Linked DNA regions of Homo sapiens: region 1 is linked to region 2. The links are contacts of gene promoters, found by promoter capture Hi-C in blood cells and fetal thymus (Javierre and others, 2016). All regions are on one chromosome and are shown on one strand. The core of a region is centred on a gene start or on the middle of the fragment in contact, and the rest is flanking DNA. Distances in the headings are between cores, read along the strand shown.

Region 1 (3,718 bases), core at 305-2,804, 510 kb before region 2:
CGGGAGAAGGCCTGGGCAGGGGCGGGAGGGGGCGCCAGGCGGCCGGGGCGAGGGCGCGGCGCCCGGGGCGCTCGCCGACAGCGCCCGCCGCTCCCCGCGTCCTCGGGCGACCAGGCAGGGGCCAGAGAGAGCCAGCGAGGCCCGGGGCCAGCGAGGAGCGGTCGGCCTGCCGGGCGCCCGTCCTCGCCGCCTCTTCCTTCCTCCTGTCGCCCGCCCGCCGCCGCCGAGATTCGCAATCCCCGCCAAGTCGGGCCAGCACCCCTTGATTGGCCACACGGGCCCGGGCCCCGCACGGAGGGAGCGGCAAGGGCCCCTTAGCGGCGCCCCCAGGCCTGGGTCCCCCAAGGGCGACGGCGCCGAGTCCGGGCAGGGAGGGTGTCCGCGGCGTACCCCCTCCGCCGCCGCCGCCGCCGCCGCCGCCTCCGCCTCCTGCTCCCGGCTTCCTCCTCCCCCTCCTCCGCCTCCGCCTCCGCCTCCGCCTCCTCTGCCGCCTCCTCCTCCTCCTCTCGGCTCGCTCGCGCGGGTCCCCGGCAGCCAGCCCGCTCGCCGGTCCCTCCTCCCTCGCTCCCTCCCTCCTCGCTCGCTCGCTCGCGCCTCCGCCGGGCCTCGCTCGCTCACCTTTCACCGAGCGCGGCTTCGCCTGCTTCCGCCTGGACATGTCCGGGGCTCCGGGCGCTCCGTCGCCCTCCGCAGCCGGCTCCCCCCGCCGCCCCCCGCCGCTCCGGGCAGCCCTTCTCCCCCTTCTCCTCCGCCTGTCTCTTGGAAACTTTTTTTTTTGCAGCCCGGTTGGCGGCTGTGGGGAGCGGACCGCAGGTCCGGGGCGGCCTCCCTTGGGGGGGCAGCCCGGGCCGGCCGAGGCCGCTCGAAGGCGGGGGGAGGCCCGGGGGGCGCGCCGGGGCCCTGCCTGTTGCAATGCGGCAGTCCGGGGCTCCCGATCCAAGCGGCGGTCCCAGCGGCGCGGGGAGTCCGGAGGCCACTCGGCCGAGCCGAGTTATGCAAAAAAAAAAAAAAAAAAAAAAAAAAAAAAGCCGCCCCCCTCCTCCTCCCAACCCCCCGCCGGCCCCCGGCCCCTGCGGCCCCCTCCTTCCCTCCCCCACCCTACCGCCACCCTCACCCTCCTCCTCCTTCTCCTCCTCCTCCGCCCCTTGCCGGATTTTTGTGCAAAGTTTGCAGGCGTCCGGCCACGCAGCCCGGTGCGGAGCTCACAATGAACCCATCTGAGGAGGGGGAACGGGGCTGGAGTCGAGGGTATCTCAAGGGGGGAGGAGACCGGGAGGCGGTCGGGAGCGCGGAAGCTCAGTACCCCCCAGGAAAAAAAAAAAAAAGAAGCCTTCGAATTATCCCCTGCCGCACAAAAAAAAATAATAAATATTAATGGCTCAAAAATGCCCAAGCGCCTGGTTTGGAGATTATGATGGATGGGGGGCGGGGGTCCCTCAACTCAGCCTACTTGGAGGGGAGGCTCGAAACGGCCGCAGTGGCTCGGAAGCCGCGGCTCGGGGCCCCTGGCTCACGCCCCCTTCTCTGGCTCTCGGATCGGCCCGGCGCCGGCCCCCCGGAGGAGGAAGGGGCGCGCGGGGGCGCTCAGGCGGCGGCCGGCAGGCGCGCCCGTGCCCCGGGCATCGCTCAGCCCGTGCGCCGGGCCGCCGCTGCCTGCCCTCGGGCTGCGGTGCTCAGCGCGAGGCGCGCAGCCGATCCCCAGGCCGGTGCCAAGTCGCCGGCCCCGCTAGCTGCCTCCATGGGCCAGGGGCTCGGAGAGGGGGGAGGCGGCGGCCGCGGTGGCGGAAGAGGAGGACGAGCAGGCGGCGGCGGCGGCGGCCGGGCTCCCGTCCTCCTGGGCAGCGGCGGCGGCGGCTGCGCCCCGGCTCCTCCGCGCTCCAGCCGGCGCCGGCCCGCCCGCCAGCCTCCCTCGCGCTCCTGTCTTCTTTGTGGTCGCTGGCTCTCCTCCTCCCGATCCGGCTGCTGGGGCTGCACTGCAGAGACACATAATAAAGCCAGGCTTGGCTGGAAATGTAGCCGGGTCCCAGCAGGAGGATGTGAGGAGCGGAGTCCCGGCGGGGGAGCGCTCTGATCCCGTGGGGCGCCCCGCACTGCTCCGGCTCGGATCAGACGGAGAGAGGGCCAACAGCACCGAGCGATGGACAGCGCTGGAAATACAGCTCCGGCCGCCCGCAAAACCCGGACCGTGGTGGCGGCGGCGGCGGCGGCGGCAGGCACGGCGCGGGCGCGGGCACCGCACCAGCACGCGGGGCCGGGGCTCGGGCGCTGGCTGCACCGGGGGCAGGAGGAGGGAACACACTTAGGGCCCACGCGGCTGTCAAGCTCGCCAAGACGCATGAGCCTCACAAACTGTAAAAAGTGAAAGAATGGGGGAGCAAACGGAGTTGGGCTGCCCTAGTATTGCCACCTCGCGATGTATGCCTCACGCACATGAACTATCCAGGGACCTGGCTCTGCCAGGTTGGCTTTTGCCCACCGGTCGGTGTTCAAAGACCACCCCTGCCCCACATCCAACAAATTCTTCCACCACTGGGCTAACCCCGTGCGCCCCCTACACCCTTATTTGTAGAATTCTCGCGCCTGGTGTGCACTTCCTCTGTCCGACTGTAAAAGGAACACCTTACCCCTGAGACCTTGCAGGAGCACCCCCTCCCCGCGCAGTTGTCAGAAGAAATAAACCAGCTGCTACTTTCTGCGAGGTTTTACCCAGCCGCCAGGGGGCGCCGCGCGTCCCCCGCAGCTCCTGAACCGGCTGAGACTCTGGTCTCCGGGCAGGCCCGGGAAGGGTTCTGACTTGGGAAAAGTCTTCCCCAGACGGCTCCCCTAAACCGTTCCTCGGAGCCTCTCCCTCCCCAACTAGCTGCAGGCGGCCAGGTCTCGGGTGGGGAGCGGCCCCGACCTCGCCCCCCTCCCGGGTGAGTGGCGCCACCTTGGGCCGGCGCGCCCCGGAGCCAGGAGAACGGAGCGGGTGCACGGCGCGGCGCTGGGGGTTATCAATCTCTCGGATCGATAAGTTGCCACTTGGAGAGGGGAGGGCTACGTCCCCTCGGAGACGAGTTACCCAGGGCAACCTTTCACGGAAAAACCCGCTGCCCGCCGAGAACAGCGCCGGGGCCGGCCGGGCCGCGGCGCCCGCCCCACGCAGGGTGCCCGCGCCCCGCCGCTCCCCAGCCTGCCGGCCAGCCGGGCCCGGCCCCGCTCAGCTCTCTCCGCGGTCCCGCCGGGCCCTGCTCGCCAACCCCGTGCTGGGCTGATTGCCGAGGTAGATGCCACCCACGCACCCCCGCGGCTGGGGAGCGCGAGCTGGAGGATGCGGAGAGGCCTGAGGCAGGGGGGCCAGGCGCGCGCGCCCTAGGCAGTCTCAGAGGTAGAGTCGGGTGACGGGCTAAACGCGACGCCTAGCTGGACACCCTGACAGCGGCAGCGGGCGAGCGAGGCTCCCCAGAGGGGCGGAGGCCAGGACCGAGACGTCCCCTAACTAGACCTAAGCCTTGAGGGCCGCCCCTCCCCAGGTTAGCGCTACCATCCCCAGGCCACAGTCCTCCCCAGCTTGTGCGTCCAAGAGTGTCCAACATCTCGGCCTTCCCGGAGGGAATAGGAGCCCCCCCCCCCACGCCCCCGCGGCCCAGGGATGGACGGAGTTGGGCTGAACCGGGGGTGCCAAGGGCCGAGGCGAGGGCAGGGGCCGCGAGGCGCCTGGGAAGGAGCCAGGAAGGAG
Region 2 (3,732 bases), core at 126-2,625:
CATTACAGGTTTCTGACCAAATTTTCTCAACACACTACAACACTGTTTTAAAAGATTTAAAGTTGCTCATTACAGATTTGGCATTATAATATTTATTTCAGAACAAACTTTAAACCCCAGTAGATCCCACTCGCTTCTGAAATGACTATTTTTGACAATCCTTGAACACTGAGGCTTTCTTGAGCATGACTTTTTACCCTGCCTAGATGGAAAAACCATTCTTTGAAGCAGCTCCTCAAAATTTGGACTTAGCTGCTTCCTCACCTGATGTGCGAGTACAATTGCCTAAGAGTATAATCCAAAAACGACTTGCTGAAACTCATAGATGATTCATGTCTCTATTCTGTCCTGCTCCTCCTCAAACGAGCCAGATCTTAGAGGCGTTTGTTTTCCCCAGATACAAAGAAAATAAAATGAGGTTGGCACCTGGAAGAGGCAGTGCCGTCCGCAAAGCCAAAGCAATGTAACCACTTGTACCTTAACTCTTCTCCGTTTTCTCCCCTTTTCTTCCCCTGGAATCTGCTTCTCTCCTTTCTTTCTCTTTTTCCGCTTTCTGTCCTTGTGTTTGTCATGATCGTTTTTGTCTTCGAAGAGGCTGGAGTCGTGCCCCGAGCTGCCCGTGGAGAGTTCGGTGACTTCGTTCCCTCCTACTTTGAGGACCAGCTTCAAGGGCTTCTCTACATACTCTTAAAAAAAGAAAAGAAAAGAAAGGAAAGCGCGTCGATTAAAATCGGGGCTCTCCAGGGAGTGCTAAGGATGCAGAGCGCCAAGGCGCAGCAAGCCCGAGGCGGCTTTGGGCGCTCCGCGAAGCACCTGTTGAATGACGGACCCCGGCCCGGGGGTGCGGCGGCGCCGCCCGCCCCGAACGCTCCCAGGCCTCCCGGGCCCGCCTCACGTCTCCCCACCAGAGACCCACCGGACCAGGGGGACCCGGGTTCGAATGCCGCGGCCGCACGGGGGGCAGCGCGGCCTCCGGCAGGACGCGCCCCCTTCGCCGGCCTGGGCCTGCCGTGGGAAGGAAGGGCCCCGGGCCGCCCCGGAGCCACTGGGAAAGAGCGGAAGCCCGGCAGAGCCGCCGAGGGCCCGCCGCCCGCACCCCGGCCCCCTCCTCACCCTCGTAGAGGTGTTTGTCCGACTTGTGCTTCTTGTGCTTCTTGCCCATGTCCGACCGGGCCCCGGTGCCCGCCCCCCGCGCCAGGCCCAGGCCGTGCGGCGCCGCTTCCGGTCCGGGCCAGGCGAGCGGAGGGCGGGAGCGGGGCCCGCGAGACCCCGCGCCGCGAGGCAGGGGGGCGGCGCGCGCCGGGCGGCGCGATGCCCCTCTCGAGAAGACGGCGCGCGAGACCCGGCCGGAGCCCGAGAGCGGCGGCGGGGGGGGCGCGCGGCCGGCGCAGAGGCGGGAAAGAAGGCCCGCCGCGCGCACAGGGTGCCGGCGGCTGCGGGTGGCGGCCCCTGGCGACCGGAGGTGGTGCTGCAGCTCGCGGGCCGGGGGCGGGGCCGAGGGCGGGGCCGGGGCGGGATCCACCGCTCAGACTCTCGTCTTTCTTCCTTCCTCCCTTTCCCCTCAATTTGTCTGTCTTGTCTCTGTCTCTGTGTGTCTCTCCCTCCGTCTCCACTTCCCTCCCTTCTTTTTACTCCCTCCCTCTCTTTCTTTCTCTTTCCCTTCTTCCCTTCCTTCCTCCTTCCTTCCTTTCTTTCTTCCCTCCTTACTGCCTCCCTTCAAGCCTTCCTTCTCTCTTTTCTTCCTCCCTCATCACCCTTCCTTCTCCTCTTCCCGTCTCCTTCCCTCTTTTTTTCTTTTCTTTTTTTCCCCTTCCTCCTTCCCCCACTCTTCCTTTCTTTCCACTTTCCCTTGCTTCTGTTTCTTCCCTTTTACGATATTGACTGAACCCCATACTGGGTGCCAGACCCAGCAAACTCAGCACATTGGTGACTGAAGATTCTAATCTTAAAAAAAACTTATGTGCTGATAGGTGAAGGTTACCAGACGTTTTGACTGTCTTTACTTCTAGCTGTATGGTGCTTTGTCTGTTTTCAGATAAGCTCGTAATTATAGTCTCCTCTTAAGAAAGGATCTGTTATCAGTCATTTATACTTTAGTAACAATTTAGACCCATGAATCACCTCTCCCAGGAAGATTTGTAGCTTTACCTTGAACTTCAGTGGTGAAATTATAGGCTTATATTTTAGGACCCTATTGTTGGCAACTAATAGAAACCAATTTGAATTATTTCAAGTAAATAAAAAGGGATTTATTGGTTTACATGTCTAGAAAGGGCAAGAATAAAGCTTGCCAGAGGGAAGACAGGAACCAAGGATGTAATGCTGTTGACTGGCATGCCAGCTCGCTCTCTCTCTTGTCTCTCTGTATATCGGTCTCCATCTCCCCCCTTCTTTCCTATATGGCTGGAAACATGGCCACCATCTGCTTCTGAGGCCTCTTCTTTATAGTGTCCTGACCAACTGGGAAAAAGATCTCTTCCTGTCAGCTTCACCTGGAAAACAGTCCCAGGGAAGGACTCTGATTGGCTTGGCTTGTGTCACATGTTTTATGGGACAGGGGATGGGAGATTGATTCGGCCTGGATGCCAAATCTACCCCCTCACCCCCTTGGCCAAGAGAAGTGGAGTCTGTGATTGGCAGCTCCTGCCAGACTTCTATGGTTAGCCAGGGAAGATGAGGTTCTTCTAATGAAGAGAGTTGCTTTTTCATGAAAGCTAAAAGTGTGTGTCTATTATTTCCCTGTAACAAGCCTCTCTGGTGTCCGTGAGGCAGAGATCAGGGTGTGGGAAGAGGGGTTGTGTTGGGGAAGAGACCTTCTGCTGCTCTGAAATCAAGCCAGCTAGGCCCCCTAGGCCCCCTAAGCATAGGGCAAAGCTTGGTTTCAGCTTTTCATCCACTGTCTGTAACTTATTTTGCTTTAAGAACCACTATGCCAACTCCCACTGTGGGTCTGGCCTCTATTGTGGCATTGCCTTGCTCCAGGCTCAACCTGTGGGTTTACCTGTCTGCTCCTCATTACCCTGGGTACCTCCTTGGTACTTACAGTGCCTAGCACAGTGACTACTACTGTCCAAATGCCCCTCAGAGGAAAAAGGTCTGGTGAACTCATCCATACTATCAAGTTAGTAATTTCCCTACCCTCTCAAGAGTGATTCTACATAGGTCACAAAGTGGTCACATCAATGGAAAGTGAATAAGAGTACGTAGCAGAAAACACCTCCCAGAAAAATGTTCCTGGAAGTGGAAGCCCAAATTCATCTAGTTTTAAATTCTCAGCACTAATACCATGCCTGGCACATAGAAGGCACCAGAAAATGCTAGTTGAGCTGCACGGTCCTGGTTCGGGCAGACTCCCCTGAGAGATTTCTGCCTGCTGCCATTCATGACCTCCCAGTGAGTGTAGAATGGCCTGGAGACTGGCTTCAGAGCAATAGAATATGGCAAAGATGATGGACGTCACTCCTGTGTTGAGGATACATAAGACTTCAGTCTTACTTGCTGACCGTCTCTCTTGCCTTCTTGGCTTGCATGTTTTGATGAAGTAAGCTGCCATGCTGGAGAAGCCCATGTGACAAAGACCTGAGGCTGGGCCCCAGTTGACATCCGGCTACAACTGAGGCTATCAGTCCAACAGCCTTGAAGGATTGAATCCTGCCAGCAACTGTGTGAGCTTCAAAGTGGATCCTTCCTCAGTGGAACATTCAGATGAGACCTCAGCCCTGGCTGACATCC

What was found. The method cuts DNA at HindIII sites, captures the fragments that hold promoters and counts their contacts. A CHiCAGO score of 5 or more calls a contact.
Region 1: a fragment that was not itself captured here is called in contact with the fragment with the promoter of BRD7 in region 2 in 3 of 17 cell types (neutrophils, naive B cells and monocytes); the score reaches 6.0 in neutrophils.

Annotation. Positions count from the first base shown.
Region 1 is chr16:49,855,117-49,858,834 of GRCh38, forward strand. It overlaps ZNF423 (zinc finger protein 423), which reads right to left and starts at 996. Exons shown (of 8, transcript NM_001379286.1): 1 at 619-996. The coding sequence starts at 658. RefSeq lists a silencer at 240-499. The HindIII fragment of the contact is 5,566 bases long and covers 1-3,718 here.
Region 2 is chr16:50,367,613-50,371,344 of GRCh38, forward strand. BRD7 (bromodomain containing 7) reads right to left here and starts at 1,376. Exons shown (of 17, transcript NM_013263.5): 1 at 1,114-1,376; 2 at 478-686. The coding sequence starts at 1,162. RefSeq lists silencers at 765-1,274, 1,305-1,554. The HindIII fragment of the contact is 8,339 bases long and covers 1-2,284 here.